Linked DNA regions of Homo sapiens: region 1 is linked to region 2. Evidence: promoter capture Hi-C in 16 types of primary human blood cells and fetal thymus (Javierre and others, 2016). All regions are on one chromosome and are shown on one strand. Each heading gives the region's core, a stretch centred on a gene start or on the middle of the fragment in contact. The rest is flanking DNA. Distances are from core to core; before and after follow the strand shown.

The links. Contacts are between HindIII fragments. The CHiCAGO score rates a contact against its expected background, and 5 or more counts as called.
Region 1: a contact is called between a fragment that was not itself captured here and the fragment with the promoter of NEMF in region 2, in 1 of 17 cell types (monocytes). The highest score is 5.1, in monocytes.

The regions. Positions count from the first base shown.
Region 1 is chr14:50,930,447-50,934,075 of GRCh38, forward strand. PYGL (glycogen phosphorylase L) reads right to left here. Exons shown (of 20, transcript NM_002863.5): 4 at 1,227-1,330. Among named protein-coding and RNA genes, the nearest start is that of PYGL, 12 kb to the right of the region's middle. The HindIII fragment of the contact is 4,432 bases long and covers 1-3,629 here.
Region 2 is chr14:49,850,604-49,854,323 of GRCh38, forward strand. NEMF (nuclear export mediator factor) reads right to left here and starts at 2,185. Exons shown (of 33, transcript NM_004713.6): 1 at 2,092-2,185; 2 at 1,204-1,272; 3 at 960-1,062. The coding sequence starts at 2,150. It also overlaps RN7SL3. RefSeq lists an enhancer at 2,192-2,431 and a silencer at 3,235-3,294. The HindIII fragment of the contact is 4,280 bases long and covers 1,346-3,720 here.

The sequences.
Region 1 (3,629 bases), core at 503-3,002, 1.1 Mb after region 2:
CCTCTCAGCTTTTATTTATTTGGGGGTAGCTAAAGATAAACAGCTCTGGTCCTTAGCAAAATGTGGAAGTTTGTCTTCCACTCTATCCCTAATATTCTCCTGAGTCTTTTTCCTTGGCACATTCTCTCATCAAACCAAATTTTTTAGTTCCTCCCTTTTTTGGTTCACAAAGAATCCAAATACTGAGGGAGGGGAAAGAGGGCAGTGGTGACACTAAACTCATTCTCATAGGGTTATCTTCCTTTATCCTGGCACAGCCTAGGTCTCTGCATCCAGTCCCTGAGCGTTCTCTTGTTGGACTCATCTCATAAGTGTGGGAAAGGCTCAGAGAGCTCAAGTTTTTTGGAAACTGAAGATATATATTTCTGTCAATGGTGTATGTATGAGACAAAAATAGGGAGAGAGGAAGCCTAAATCACACTTAGTATTAGCAAAAACTGTCCACACTAGGGCGACTGTAGACTCAAACAGTTACCAGAGATAAAAAAAAAATAAGTACCTAACAATCTGGTTTGATTATATAAAGTAAAAGTAGTGTCATTTGGATAGATTTGTACAAATTTCTATGGGGCAGTGTAATTATACATATTAAATGTGTGCCAGATTTATTTGCTATAACAGTTAACAACACTGTCTGATTTCATCTTATAAAAAAATCAGGACACTTGGTTTGTGTCTTGTAACCATAGCATATTAAAGAAGGCAAGACTCTGAGTGTAGAATAGAATACTGAATATGGTCCTGGGAATCTGGGGATACAGACATGTATTGGCCAGCAGTGTGATCTGAGGTAACTTTACTTCCTCAGAGACTCAGTGTTCTCACCTACAAAATGGCAATGTGCTTCCTATCATCAAGGGTTCTTGGCTGAGATCATGAGTCAAAGATGTGCTCCTCCATTATGACTGCTGCAGAGAATGGAACATCACACATTGTAGGTGCTCCACAATCAGGCAGTCAGTGATATATATTTTCAGAGCACCCTGTGCGTCAGCCACTGCCCTCAGTGCAATGGATCTGGTGATGAGTGATACTGGAAGGCTCTCTGTTCTTGGGGAACATACATTCTGAAGTGGGAAGATGGATAGATAGAACTCACTGATACCAACCAAATGCCAGAGAAATTAGTACAGCTCTATGTTAAAGGTCCATATATTATAAATCATCCAGAGCACCATGAAAGAGAAGTACCTTAATGACAAAATTTAAAAAGATGGCTCACACACCTGCCATCCATCTCGGATCTTCTGATTGAAAATCCCATATTCATACCGAATGCCGTATCCATAGGCTGCAAGTCCCAGGGTTGCCATGGAATCCAAGAAGCAGGCTACATTCAACAGAGCACAGGCAAAAGATAGAGTCATTAAGCTGAGCCAAAATTTCCAGTCTTTCCCTAAAACACATGGCAGCCACAAAACATTGTTATATGAAGAACCACATTTGTATTCTAAAGCACAGATACTACTGCACAATGGGTATTGATTTTTAAAAATAACTCATTTCTAATTATAAAATTAATACTATAGAAAAGTTAGAAAATGCAAAAATGTATAAAGAAGAAAATCTCATCTATGACCTCACCATCTAGAAATAACTATTGTGTACATTTTGTTTGAGAACAGATAAGGAAGCCAACCTGCACCAGATAATGTCGATTATTGTCCCCACACTGCCTTTTCTAAGGGAAGCTGTCTCTATCCTCCCCTAAGACTCACCCCACTGGAAAAGACAGTCCCAGGAGAGTATAACTTATATGTGTCCCATTCCCTTCCAGCAACTGACTGACAAGATATTCTGTGGCCAGCTCTGTTTCTTCCTGGCTAATGGAATTCCACTGTTGTTCAGATATTAGGTGATCATATGCTTCAGGGAGGCTGAACCAGGAAGTGAATCTTGCTGGATTGGTCTAATCTGCTAAGCCAATCATAGCAATTGTATTTCCTTCTCCGTGGGCATACAATGACATTCAATCAGATGAGTGGTGCTAGAAAGTCTGTTGGGTATAGGAGAATTCTGGGAAAGATTTTCCTTGCTGCCACTGTCTTTTTTCCATGAGGGGAAAGACAAAAGGACCAGAGACCTGGAGTCCTGCTATACTCCTGCTGCTGAATAAACCAGTCTTGGAATGGCCTTACCTCTGGAGTTCTTGTTATATGATAACACATGTCCTTTTTGATTGAAGCATTTTTGCTAGGTTTTCTGTTATTTAATGACAGGGCATCTGATCCAGAACAGTTAACCAACAGGCTGGGTAAGGATCTGTCTTGTGGCTGGATGAAAACTAAGGTGTTACACTAATCAGATTGTCCCTCCCAGGAATTTAAGCTGAGAAATATACACAGAATGAGGAAGTGTACAGTAGGAATTAAAACTGACAAGAATATTAAAAGCTGTAGATCAAACAGAAAGGGATTGAATGAGGTTGGTGGTACAGCCCTTAAAACAGAGATCCACAAACACAAATGGCCTAGGCTTTCAAGTTTTTCTTACATCGCCAATCCCTGTGCTCACATATGGCCTGGCTCTGCTCCCATTCCTGTTCTCTTTGAGCTGTGGCTCTTCGGCTTTTCCTGAGTCCTGATCAGATTATCTTTAGAGGGGGTCCCAACTTAGATGAGATCATCTAATGAGAATTCTCAGCTTCATCAGCCTCTTCACTCTGACTTCATCAGTCAACTCAAGGAGCGATGTCATGAATGTCAGACACAGAGTTAACCTAGCTAACAAAGACTGAGGGCTCGGGCTTCACATAAAAGGTAGGCAGGCTGGTTCTTATTCTCAGATGTGCATCAGCACTGCTGGCCTTCCTGCAGCCCCATAGAAAGCCTACTAAATTGTCTGATAATTAACTTCACAGGAAGGTGGCAAGTATCCCACAGGCATTGTTTTATTTTGTTTTGTTCATTATTAATGACAATGTTAAAGCACACTGTGACTAATGTACTAAGGATGAAAAAAATGAAACAGATGCAAATGGCTTTCTAGTAACTTGGGTGTATGCAAAATCAGAAGATTTTTGAACAATTTCTAAAAGAGAGGAGATAATTATTTTTCATAGAATACAATCTGATACATGTGTGGTAGTACATTTTTATTATTAAATTTAAATTTCACAAATAATACATTAATGCATCTTCCTTAAAAATATTAAAAGTTACAGACAAAAAAATTTATTATGCCAGCATCCCCTTTGATCGCTATCCCAGTTCTGCACTCCTCCCTACAGGGGGTCGTAGGGAACAGTTTCGTATTTAAAATTCCAGACCTTTTTTTCTACATATTCACATTATATACATATGTACACACACACATATATACACACACACACACATATATGTCTGGAATATATATCTTCCAGATCTTTTTCCTATATATTTACACACACACAGACACATACATATATATTCACAGAAAATATTTAATTTTTAAAAAACAAATGGTATCACACTGTATGGCTTTAATGCAATTTGATTTCGCTTTTAATTTGGAGATCTAGCTAGGAAAGTACATCTAGGTCAATTTTGTTCTTCAACAATCAGTGTAGTACTTTTATAAACTACACTGTAACAATTATTTTCCCCACATGTCTTCTTATGTGTGTGCTTCTTTAGGGTAGATATCAAGTG
Region 2 (3,720 bases), core at 935-3,434:
AATAAAAGAATGGGTAGCATGCCCACCCATGTAAAAATCTGTTTTAATAGTAAAAACAAAACAGAAAAATAAAAAGACTTAGTAACATATTAATGTCAGTGAGTATTCCAAAAAAAAAAAAATACTGACTGGGTACAGAGGAATACGACTCACAAAAGTGAGCTCTGGAAGATAAGACTAGGAAAAAAAGGTGGGGCAGGGAGGAGAAAGAACACAGAAAGCCAAGAATGTTAGGCTATAGAATATGGATTTAGAAATCAGGAAACCATAAAAGGTGAGGTAACTAATGAAAATTATACTTTAAAAAAATTAATGTTGGGCCAGGCGCGGTGGCTCATGCCTGTAATCCCAGCACTTCAGGAGGCTGAGGCTGGCGGATCACCTGAGGTCACGCATTTGAGATCAGACTGGCCAACATGGTGAAACCCCATCTCTACTAAAAATAGAGAAATTAGCCGGGTCTGGTGGCACACGCCTGTAATCCCAGCTACTGAGGAGGCTGAGGCAAGAGAATCACTTGAACCTGGGAGGCAGAGGTTGCAGTGAGCCAAGACTGTGCCACTGCACTCCAGCCTGGGTGACAGAGCGAGACTCCTTCTCAAAAACGAACAAAAAAACAAACAAACAAAAACAAAAAAATTAACGTTGGTCTAATTTAGAATTGTTTTGATGCAGAGAAGTGAATTACAGTTAAGGAACTGTAAGGCTGAATGTGATAAAAGCTTGAACTCTAATAGTGACTGTGGAAACAGAAGATCTGGAGCAGAACAGGATGTGAAAGGTAATGGGGAGAAATCAATTAATAAATATTCACTTTATTCAACCCATTATCTGTCAACCACTCCCTTTACCTTCATTTTATCTGCACTTTATTCGTAACAGTGAAGGAAACCCCAATTAAAAACTTAATTGTTAGTGAGCAATCTCTTAAAATTTAGCTTCAAGCGTAACAAGTTTACCTTCATGGCAAAACTAGACGGCATCATATTCTTAGGCCACTCAAATTCTGTTGTATGAATTCGTATGCCAGATTCAAGTAAAAGTGTAGCTTTAAAGTCCGGTCTGTAGAAGAAAAAAGTCGAATTTTTCTTTAGGGTATATGCCAAAGCTAATTGCTAAACAGGCTTAAAATGTAGGTTAAAAAAAATCAGTAATCTCATACTTAATTGTCAAAGAGAAAATAAGCCTATAAAATGTTCTTACTTTTGAAGACGAATAAGGTATGTCTTATTATCCACATCATAAACATTGTTTACTCTCATTCCTAGCAAGCTGCAAAGATAAAGGAAACATGTAACATGTTACACTATTGTCTGAAACATAAAACTACACATAATTTAATAAAAGCTTCGAAAGAGCGGATCTCAGTCTCTAAGGATATGGAGTCAGCCGAGGAGCAGAGTCTGAAAGCCATTTGGAGATTCAGTTCAAAACTTAAGAGTAACGATTTAAAAACAGAAGTGGTCTATCAGCTCTAGGAACAACACACTATAGCTTGCGTCTTCCAAATGACCCAATTTTGGGGGAGAAATACAGTAAAATATAATCCAATTAATTTATTACAAGGGAGAAAAAAAAAAGATAAAAGAGGGCCCCGAAAATATGACAAAGCTCACAGGGCTGAATAATAGAATCCAGACTAGAATCCAGATCTCAGTCCAAATCTGCTCAATCCAGCTAAAACCGCGATGCTCTCTCTCTCTCTGGGGTGAGGGGAGGGAGGTGTTCAAGAAACCAAGCCCCCAGTCTGGAAACCTCTGAAGCAAACGACCACTCTGGCGTCTCGTGTTTTAACAAACGTTTCCTGCCCAACCCGGACAACCCAGGCCAACAATGCAAGAGCTTCGCGCTAGCGGGGCAAGCCAGAGAGCTGGGAGGACGCGGGGGATGGGGCACGAGGTGCCTGGGACCCCCAGGGGTATCCTAAGGGTCACGGGAAAGACACCACACGCCTGCCCACTCAGGCCTAGGCAGGTCCATAGACGCACTAGGAAATAAGGAAACATATCAAGCTGGTCTGTTTGCGCCATGGGACTCCGGCCTCTGCCTCCTGCACTCCCCACACGAGCCTCGTCACTTAGGGTACTGTACCTAGCATTCAGCTCCGCGAGTACGGCGCGGAGGTCAATGGTGCTAAAGCGGCTCTTCATGGCGAGGCCCGAGGGTCACTACCGCAAGTTCCTCTACTGCCCGGCCGGACTCGACGCCACTTCTCCTCCGCGCAGGCGCACTTGGCGGAGCTCTACGGCCGCGCAGAAGACCCAATATTCCTCGAGGCGAACGTATTTGTGTCGCTTTTCTGAAGATTTCGATTGTCAAGTTGCAGCTGACTCTCTTCATTGTACCAAAATTCAAATTCGAATAAAGATTCAAACTGTTCTCTTGAAACTGCATTCCTTCCTGGAACCCTTACGGACCAGTCTGGTTACCGTGCCCCATTGTGTCTTGGGCTCAAGTCAGCCTTCATAGTGACCCCTGCTGGTCGAAACAATTTTCGAGATGATTATCAGGAGTATTTCCCCACAGGGGGGCCGTAGGGCTCAGTGTAGAAGAGCAAGGACCCCTTTCTGCGCGCTTACTTTGACATAAGATTTTGAAATGTAACGAAACGGAACTGCTTCGGTCCTTCTAAGATTATCCTCAACGATCGAGGCGAACTCTCAAAACGGAGTTCCTATTTTGATGGGTCCTGCTCTCGGAAGGAGCATTCTGCAATTGATTACAGGATTCTCATCGAACCTCGGTCTTGGTACCCCTGAGACTCACCGCAGTACCTGGTGTACAATCGGTGCTCCATAAACACTTGGCAGCATGAATGTGCAAGTGTTTAGCTAGATAATGGTGAAATAAGATAAAAATAAAAACAAGAAGATTCCCAATGGGGGTGGGGTGGGAGGGGGGATTCACAGTGTAGTGAGGAAAATAGTCCTGTAAGAATGTAAATTCTGCATTTCTTTTGTCTTAGGATAGATGCATGGGAAGAAAGGCTACTTTATAAGGTGAGAACTCAAAAGAGGCAGGGTCTCACTATGTTGCCCAGGCTGGAGTGCAGTGGCTATTCACAGGCGCAATCCCACTACTGATCAGCACGGGAGTTTTGACCTGCTCCGTTTCCGACCTGGGCCGGTTCACCCCTCCTTAGGCAACCTGGTGGTCCCCCGCTCCCGGGAGGTCACCATATTGATGCCGAACTCAGTGCGGACACCCGATCGGCATAGCGCACTACAGCCCAGAACTCCTGAACTCAAGGGATCCTCCAGCCTCAGCCTCCCGAGTAGCTGGGACTACAGGCACGCGCCACCGCGCCCGGCGCTCGGCGTCGCTGCAAAAGAGCTGCTAGAGGCTTGCAGGCTACACATGGTAGCAACCAGAATTCCTACCACCAGAAGGCGACTCTAAACAGAAAGGGCGCCGCTGCTATTTCAGAACTGGTACCAGTAGATGCAAAAATGGCTATAGCACATACTGCACAGCATTACTGTCATACGGTACAGTAAACCATACAGAATGGCCCAAAATATGAAAGCATTGGGGAGAAGGTGGAGAACAGGGAACTTTTGTATGCTGTTGATGGGAATGTAAATTAGTAGAGCCATTGTGCAAAACAGTATAAAGGCTCCTCACAAAATTAAGAATAGAATTACCATGTGATCTAGCAACAACATCACTATCCTGAAGATATATGTTCATGTTCATTGCAGCATTATTCACAATAGCCAA